2 separate regions of the Homo sapiens genome follow, and region 2 is linked to region 1. Evidence: promoter capture Hi-C in 16 types of primary human blood cells and fetal thymus (Javierre and others, 2016). All regions are on one chromosome and are shown on one strand. Each heading gives the region's core, a stretch centred on a gene start or on the middle of the fragment in contact. The rest is flanking DNA. Distances are from core to core; before and after follow the strand shown. Region 1 holds the start of GSG1L (GSG1 like). Region 2 overlaps GSG1L (GSG1 like).

Evidence for each region. Contacts are between HindIII fragments. The CHiCAGO score rates a contact against its expected background, and 5 or more counts as called.
Region 2: a contact is called between a fragment that was not itself captured here and the fragment with the promoter of GSG1L in region 1, in 2 of 17 cell types (M2 macrophages and megakaryocytes). The highest score is 6.0, in M2 macrophages.

The regions. Positions count from the first base shown.
Region 1 is chr16:28,061,924-28,066,555 of GRCh38, reverse strand. It overlaps GSG1L (GSG1 like), which reads left to right and starts at 2,842. Exons shown (of 7, transcript NM_001109763.2): 1 at 2,842-3,480. The coding sequence starts at 3,132. The HindIII fragment of the contact is 8,058 bases long and covers 1-4,632 here.
Region 2 is chr16:27,915,486-27,920,117 of GRCh38, reverse strand. All of the region lies in intron 2 of GSG1L (GSG1 like), which reads left to right. Among named protein-coding and RNA genes, the nearest start is that of GSG1L, 150 kb to the left of the region's middle. The HindIII fragment of the contact is 2,001 bases long and covers 1,066-3,066 here.

The sequences.
Region 1 (4,632 bases), core at 1,593-4,092:
CCACACTGTGCTCTCAGTTTTTCCCCAAAGGGCCAGACAGGCTCCTGCCTCGAGGCTTTTGCACTGGCCATCCCTCTGCCTGGAACTTCCATTCCCCCGGATGTCTTCATGGCTTGCCCCTACATCTCCTTCAAATCCTTGCTCCAATGTCCCCTTCTCAGTGAGGCCCTCCTTGAAGCCATCCCCACTTTGATCCCTCCCTGCTGAATTGCTCTCCCTGGCTTTCACCCCTGCATACTCTGCAGTGTTCTTTCTTTTTTTCTTTTTGAGACAAAGTCTCGCTCTCTCGCTCAGGCTGGAGTGCAGTGGCACGATCTCAGCTCACTGCAACCTCTGCCCCCGGGGTTCAAGGGATTCTCCTGCCTCAGCCTCCTGAGTAGCTGGAATTACAGTTGTGCGCCACCACACCAGGCTAATTTTTGTATTTTTAGTAGAGACAGGGTTTCGCCATGTTGGCCAGGCTGGTCTTGAACTCTTGACCTCAGGTGATCTGCCCGCCTCGGCCTCTCAAAGTTCTGAGTGATGTTCTTTCTTACGAACTTTGTTCACGTTCTCTTTTCTTCCCAGTGCTGAGCATTCAGTGGGTGGCTCAGTGAGTGGAGGAGCATCTTAGATGGAAATTCCAAATCCCTCTGTGCATCCTCAGGTGTTTCTTGAGAGAGTGTGGTCCCTGAGACATATCTCACCTGGGCTCTCCTGGCTTTGAACATGCAGGACAGGGTTCCCAGCTGTAGGTCACCGAGCCCTGCTCACATGCACACCAACCACAGCCTCGAGTCCAAAGAAGTACCCTGTTTAGCACACATCGAGGGGCTGGTTTTCATTGGTACACAGACACTCATGATGAATACTGCATGCCAGTTTAAAAGTGCTACTGGAGGCTGGGTGCGGTGGCTCATGCCTGTAATCCCAGCACTTTGGGAGGCCGAGGCGGGCAGATCACTTGAGGTCAGGAGTTCGAGACAAGCCTGACCAACACGGTGAAACCCCGTCTCTGCTAAAAATATGAAAAATAGCCAGGCGTGGTGGCAAGCGCCTGTAATACCAGCTACTCGGGAGGCTGAAGTATGAGAATCGCTTGAACCCAGAAGGCGGAGGTTGCAGTGAGCTGAGATTGCACCACTGCACTCCAGCCTGGGCGACAGAGTGAGACTCCATCTCAAAAAAAAAAAAAAAAAAAAGATGCTACTGGATTCTTTACAGCTGTTTGGCGATGATGTATTTTCTCTGTCAACCAATACTCTCAATGCCACCATTATCACATGGAGGTCCTCTCTTTCAAAATAGTTGAGAATCTCTTGCACAGTGCCAGAAAAGGGCTCTAAAAGCAAGTTTGGAGACCCTTGGCCATCCTTCGTGCCTGCTCTTACCAGGGACGTTGCCCACAACGTTTTCCTCTCACCTACCCCCCGGCAGATTAGCAGCAGCTGACAGTGGGTGCCGGCTCACCCACAGGAGTAAGGCAATTCATAATCGGTTAACCTTGAATTCTGCAAGGCCTGCCACTCGGCAAGCCGGGGGTTGTCGGAGCAGTTCTCAGCTTGGGCAGAATTCAAATGAGCTCTTATAATCAACATGCAATTAATTGTTGCACGCCCTGAGCATCTGGGCAGTAAGTGCTGTGCAGCGCGAAGGGAGTTCAGGGAGCGTGGTCATCTTAGAGCAGAGGTGGGGACGGGGTTGCACACAGTTTCCACGTTGCACAGGAGAGCCTGAAGAGGTTTGTCTGAGTTTGGTCAACTGATCTTGGTTCAGATGTCAGTAACAGTGAATTATTAATTGAGTCTACTGTGTGCCAAATGCTTTTTGCAGCCATGATCTCATTACAGCAGCCCACTGTGATATACCTTGAAGGGGGGGGGGTCCTCCCTTTTTTATAGTTATGGAAATTGAGGCTCAGAGAGGGTAAGTGACCTGTTCAAAGCCACACAGCTGGTCAAGCCCTAGATATGCTTGATCCCAAAGTCAGTATGTTTGGCCACCCTGCCCCCACCCGAATCTTGAAGATTCTACCCACATTCACATGGTGTGCATGTGAGCAGGGTTGGCAGCCCCTGTAGGGCACCACTGCCTGGTAGCTGCAATAACTTTGTGGCCGGCATGGGCCCTCCTAGGGTTCTGCTGTTTGGGATCTCAGGTGGGTGCAGTGGGCTGTCTGGGGTACCCTGTTGCCACTCTTCCTGCAGTTGCATGCCATGGTTGGGAGCCCAGATGACAGTTTCATCCTTGGAGGGGAGCTCTTCCCAGATGCTGGAGGTGACACCCAGGAGACAGAAAAACGTTTCAAACCCTATAACCCAATACTCCAGGAGGGGCGCCTCCTGACAGATTCTGCCACTCCAAGTCCAGCATGGGTTGTCTTATCCAGGGGGTCTTGCAGCTCCCTGGCTGTGGGAAGCCCTGCAGGCTCTGCTGTTTAGAACCTTTGGAAAAACTCCTTTCTCAGGGTCTGGTGCGGGGGTCCTTTTGGGGATCCCCTTCTGGGACAGGGTCCTGCTGGTCCGTGTCCCTCTTGGGGAGCCCCAGCAGGCTCTGCCCTTGTCTCCTGGGGCAGGGCCTCTCTGGGTCTCATGAGATGCCCGCTCCCGGCGGGTTTTGTTGCCCCACGTCCGCCGTGGGGATCTTTTCTCAGGAGCGCCTTGCCTGGGATTCTCCTTGCGTCTCAGACCCTCACCCTGGCTCGGATTTCTTTCGGGGGCGTCCCTCCACTCCCAGGCCCCCGCCCGCGCCCGGCGTGGCGGCCCCCTCTCCCCGTGCGGGCGGGCTCCGGAACAGTGTCGCCGGCCGCCTGCAGGTGTCTCCCCACGGAGGGGCGCGCGTCCCTGCGCCGTGGCCGCTGCCAGGCGCCAGCGGCTCCTAGCCGAGGTGCACTCGCGCTCCGGGCTCCGGGCGCGCCGTAGCCGCTCCTCCACCGCCGCCCGCCCCGCCAGCCCGCCCCGCACGCCCCCCGCGCCGCGCCCCCACCCCGGGGTTGGGGGGGGCATGGGCCCGCGCCGCGTCCGCCGCCGCCGATCTCAGGCACCCGAGCCCCGGGGCGCGGCGGGCAGCGGCCGCTGACGCGGGGCGCCAGCTGCCAACTTCGCGCGCGGAGCTCCCCGGCGGTGCAGTCCCGTCCCGGCGGCGCGGGCGGCATGAAGACTAGCCGCCGCGGCCGAGCGCTCCTGGCCGTGGCCCTGAACCTGCTGGCGCTGCTGTTCGCCACCACCGCTTTCCTCACCACGCACTGGTGCCAGGGCACGCAGCGGGTCCCCAAGCCGGGCTGCGGCCAGGGCGGGCGCGCCAACTGCCCCAACTCGGGCGCCAACGCCACGGCCAACGGCACCGCCGCCCCCGCCGCCGCCGCCGCCGCCGCCACCGCCTCGGGGAACGGCCCCCCTGGCGGCGCGCTCTACAGCTGGGAGACCGGCGACGACCGCTTCCTCTTCAGGAATTTCCACACCGGCATCTGGTACTCGTGCGAGGAGGAGCTCAGCGGGCTTGGTGAGTGCGCGCGGGCGGCGGCCAGCTCGGCTCCGGCTCCCCCGGGGCGGCGCGGCCATCGAGGCCCGAGCCCCGGACCCGTTCGCCCTCCTCCCGCCGCCTGGGCCCAGCTCCCAGCGCTCCGCCTGGCTAGGGGCGACGTTCCGGGGCAGGGGGCGCGCGCCGTTCCGGGGCCGGGGACCAGCATGGGGGGACGTGCGGGACGCCCCGCCGTGGAGAGGTGCAAGGCAGAGCTCCTACCCGCTGCGGACGCCCCGCGGCTTTGGGGACGCTCCCGCGCCCCGGGAAGGCGCCCACCCCCGCTGCCGGTCGGAGGGGCGCGCGCTGCTTTCCGCTCCTGAACTCATCTCCACGCTCGCCCCCTCCTCCTCTTCCTTTCGCGGGGCACTAGATGCCCCCACCCACCCCGGAACGCCCCTGGGGGTGGGGGTGATGCAGGGACTCCTGCTACCAGCCGCCCCTCCTGCCGCAGATCCACAGACCCGGGAGCCTTCCACCCCCATCGCCAACCCACGCCGAACCTCCCAGACGGGAGTGGGGAGTGGGGGAGTCCCGCGGGCTCCCGGAAAGCCGCACCCGCCCAGAGGCACCCCTATTGCCAGACGCCAGGGAGCCCTCTGTATCCTGGCCCCCTCCTGGGAGAGGCAGGCTAGGGAACTGGGGACAGCTGGGCAAACTCCGGGTCGAGGAGTCCAGGAGGGCTTAGCTTAGCACAAGGCTCCTATTAGGTTCGGTGGGGGACTGACTTTTCAGAAGGCAGATCAGACTGTCCCCTTTGCCTGGACCCCCTCCTCTACCCTCCAGAGGCAGCCTGGGCTGGAGTGCGTGTTTTGGAGGCAGACAGCCGGGCTGTGGCAGGGCCCAGGGGACAGCTGCCGGACAGCTGGTTGTGCCACACAGCAGGTAGAGCTGGCCCGAAAGACGTGGTATCTCTGAGCGGGTGTCCAGGCATGGACACCCTCCTGAGTGAATTGACCTCTTTCTCCAAGGTTAAAACTCCTCCCTGCATGCCTAGCTCCTCAGTGTGGACACCACACATATGTGTGTGCTCAAGGGTGGGTTACAGCAGACCTCCACCCTTAGTTTGCCCTAAATAAGCCAGTGGCCTAAGTGGTTTAGAGGGCAGAGGGAGGAAGCTGTGAAGCGAACCCA
Region 2 (4,632 bases), core at 817-3,316, 150 kb after region 1:
TGAAGATTTTAAATTTTGGTCCTCTTAATGTACAATGGGTTCATGGAAGGTATGCCTCAAAGGAGGACATTCTGACCGAGCCACAAGGCCCCTTCCCCCGAGTCAAGATTCCATAATCTTTTTTCAATTCAGCCCCCTTCGGAACATGCCATTTGGCATGGGATGGGATAGATCCTCATCAAGAGGGATGGGATAAATCACTTACTGCTGCACTTTTGGCCCTTACTCCCAGGATGATAAATAAGCATTGAAAGATATGGGTTTTTCTAAATACTCTGTCTCTTATTTTCCTCCTTTCAGGTGAAAATCCAATGATATGGACTCCATATTATCAACTAGGGTGTAATGTTGAGCCGACTCCCCCTCCTGTAATGTAATTTCTCCATTGGGCACCCATGTCTCCATCACTCTCAGCCTGTGTGGTCAGGGTGAGGCTGGCTCTATCTCCAAGGCTGGGCACACGGTCCAGGCTTGGCCAATTGGAGTTTTCCATCTTCTTGGCTGCCATGATGAGTACTGGATTCTAGGAAGCTAGATGTTCTGCTGCATTTGCTGAAAAAATGGAGCTCTCCTTCTCCTGGGTGTGGACCAAGTCAGAGGGGTGTTTGCCTGGAGCTTCTGGTGAATGTCTTTGTCATCCCCGTAGGGAGATCCTGCAAAGGCTCTGAGGTGAGACCGAGCTTGGCATGTTTTGAGGAACAGAAAGAGAGAATGGTTGGGGCATGGAAGGTAAGGGGAGAATGGTAGGAGATGGAGTCAGAGAGGAAGGTAGGGACCAGATCATGGGCAGCCATGATGGCCATGATAGGGAATTGGGAGATTTTTCTAACAGCAGTGGGAAGTCATTGCCACTTTGGGCATCCCCATGCCCTGGAACCTTCTTTGTACTGACTCCTTCCTCCTTATTGAGTCATCTTGGATACGAACAGGTTTGAATGAGAATTGAAAGACTCTGGGCATCCCTAGGCTCTGCCTTTGTGATATGCGCAAGTTGCACTCATCTCTGGGCCTGTTTCTACTGTGGCTCATGATGGAATCAGACAAGTTTAAGGAGAATGGAAAGCTTTAATCCTTCATCCCTTCTATTCTCAATTGGTAGTGCCTGCCTGGACAGCTGTGTGGAGAAGGATTGTGAGGCGTCTCCCAGGCTCCGTGGGAGAGTGCCATGATCGATTAGCAATGTCTGCCCTGGGTAAAGGAACGGGAATGATGAATCATCCATCTTAAGACTACACACTCCCAGAGGTGTCTCCCATAGAATTTCATGGTACTTTACATCAGATGTATCAGAAACTTAGAGCACCAGACCAAGGATAAAAATGTTCAGCAAGCCTTTGCAGGGCTTCCCATTTTACAAAGATTCTTCCTGCCCATTTTCTTGTTGGATCTTCGCAGCCTCCTCAAACCATCTTCTTTATTCTTTTTTTTCTTTTTCTTTCTTTTTTTTTTTCTTTTTTTTGAGATGGAGTCTTGCTCTGTCGCCCAGGCTGGAGTGCAATGGCATGATCTTGGCTCACTGTGACCTCCGCCTCCCAGGTTCAAGTGATTCTCCTGCCTTGGCCTCCTGAGTAGTTGGGACCACAGGCGCCCGCCACCATGCCTGACTAATTTTTTGTATTTTTAGTATAGACAGGGTTTTGCCACGTTGGCCAGGCTAGTCTTGAGCTCCTGACCTCAAATGATCCACCTGCCTCGGCATCCTAAAGTGCTGGGATTATAAGCATGAGCCACCACGCCAGGCCCTCAAACCATCTTAATAGGAAAACAATCTGTTGTGTTTGCCCCATAGCCAGCATCCCTTTTTCTGGTAACCATACTCTGGTTGTTGTTTTTTTCTGCTGGGTGTCAAGCTCTTTCTATGCTCAGGCCATGTAGTTTGTGACTGAGGTTGAAGCAGGAGACCCAGGCCTACGGCAGTCAAAGCATCACATTCCCCTGTGGATGGGTTGATGGATTCATGACCAAATCAGAGGTTATGCAATACAATGAAATGTCTGCTGCAACCTCAGGGGAAGAGAGCTGTGCCCAGTGGATTTGAAGGTGGTTGGATGTGGGTCTAGGTGTGTTGGGGCTGTTTCCTGTGGCCCTGAAAGCTGATTTCACACATTTCTTCTCAACTTGGCATTCAAAATCTGCCACAGTAGAAGGATTTGCTAAAAATCAGGGATTTTTTTTTTGGTCCCAAGAGCTGGCTTGGCTTCCGGCCACTTTCTTACCATGGCATGGAGTCTGAGACCCAAGCCACAGCATGGAAGATGGAGCCAAAAGTTAGAAAAGGACCGAGTCCTCCGTCTAGCTGTGCCCGAAGCCAGATCTGCTTTTTAGCTGATGAATTATTCTTCTGTTTATGCCTGTCGTGGTTGTATTTCTATCCCTTGCAACTAAGAGAAGTCTGATATAAATTTTAGATTCAGCAGGCTAAAGAAAAGATGGTTTAATTCTCATCTCTTTAAAACTCTGGGAATACTTCCCCACTGCCTTGGGAGGAATGGCTGGATTCTCACCTGGCACCCTAGGTTTTCTGCCATCTGGCCCCAGTTGCTGTCTCTGGCTTCAGAGGAAGGCCTCCTATGCTCTGGGTTGATTGGGTTTCTTAACTGCCCTCAACAAAGTCTCCTCTTTTGCTTATTCTGTTCCTCTCTACCTGGAACACCCTTTCTTTCTCCACAGCTACATTCCTGTCATTGTTTAGGGTCCTGCTCATTCCCCCTACATCCTTGGAGCTATGCCAGCTTCTCCCCCCGCCCCTCTCTCTCAGCACACAGCACTTTCTTGATTGTAGAGTCCTCACGCCCAGCTCACTGCCTCTTCTACATTTGAGCACTTTAAGGTCAGGACTGCATGAGGTTCATCTTCAAATCCTCCCGAATACCTGTTACATCACCTTGCACAAAACAGGCCATCAGGAAATACTTGTGAAGCCAACAGATCCATTCTCAACCCAGCAGCTAGAGTGATCTACTGCAAACGCAAATTATATTGGGCCACCGGCTTCTTTAAAATCCTCTGACCAGAATTCCCACCTCACTGGCCTCTGGATTACAGAAAAAAAGCACGAAGCAAGCTTGCTCCCACCTCAGGCCTTTGCACTTGCTGTGTGTGGATTTATCTTCACCCAACTCTTTATTTAGCTTCCTCCTTCCTACCAGGATTTAGCTCAAATGTCACCTCCTCATAGACATCTTGCCTGGACACTCTTAACTGATATAGCCCCACTCTAGACATTTTTTTTTTTGCATTGAGTGATTTTAATTTTATTTTTTCCATTAATGATGATCAATGCTTATATAGCACTTATGATGTATCACATCGTGTCCTAAGCAAATACAGGAGTATATTAACTCTTTTAGTTTTTAACAACCCCATGAGGGAGGTGCCCCCATTTTACACACAAAGAATGAGTGTCATAAGCTGGCTTCCCTGGGAACAGAGCCTGAGATGGGAATTCTGGTGCCCATGAATTTTTGGAGAGATACTTTCAGGTAAAAGGGAGAGAGCATGGCACAGTAGTTCATGCCTGCCGTCCCAGCACTTTGGGAGGCTGAGATGGGAGGATTATTTGAGGCCAGGAGTCTGAGATCAGCCTAAGCAACAGAATGAGAACTCATCTCTACAAAAAAAAAAAAAAAAAGGATTAAAAATATTAGCTGGCATGGTGGTTTGCAACCCAACTACTTGGGAGGCTGAGGTGGGAGGATTGCTTGAGCCCAGGAGTTTGAGTCTGCACTGAGCTGTGATTGCACCACTGTACTCCAGCCTGGGCAACACAGCAAGACTCTGTCTCTAAAAAAAAAATATAAATACATAAAATTTAGAAAGAAAAACATGTTTAAGAGAGGGCAGAGGAAGATAAATTAGACACAGAGGGCAGAGTAAGGGAAATGGCATGGAAGGGGTGTGGTCTCCCCAGAGACTGACCCCCTGGGAAGCTCTGGAGTGTGAATTATACTGCAGAGTTGGTTCCACCTTCAGCCACAGGAAGCACGCCTTTTTTCCTCATTGGGTGTCTCAGGGGTTAGAGGGAATCACCATAACCTTCCAGGTGAGCTGGCTGCAATTCAACCAAGGGCATGTTTCTGCAGAAGGGGAGAGTGTGCTCCTTTAGTGGCCCGTCATGGCAGCCAGGGAGTGATGTATCACTGCAAAGGGGACCTGGGTAGGCACCAGGAATATTCACTGCAAAAAAAGTTAAATGATTTGCCCGAGGGCCCCACCCGGTAAGTGGCAGAACCAGAATTTAAACCCAGGTTGTCTGTCTGTTCCTTTAACCTCTCTGCTGTGGCTGCCGCTACCTGACATGATCCTATTGTATTTATTATTATTATTTTTTAGAGACATGGTCCCACTGTGTTGCCCAGGTTGGAGTGCAGTGGCTATTCAAAGGCATAGTCATAGCTCACTGCAGCCTCAAACTCCTGGGCTCAAGCGATCCTCCCCTCTCAGTTTCCCCAATCCTATTGACTTTTGAAAACTTGTTTATTTTCAATCTCCTCAAGACAGCAGACTCATTGGTTTCATTCGTAGCTATGTCCCCAGCACCTTGAACAGCACCCAGCACATAGTAGGTGCTCAGTAAATACTTGTGGCTTGAGTGAGTGAATGAACGACTGAGAACTGTGGACCTGTGAGCCT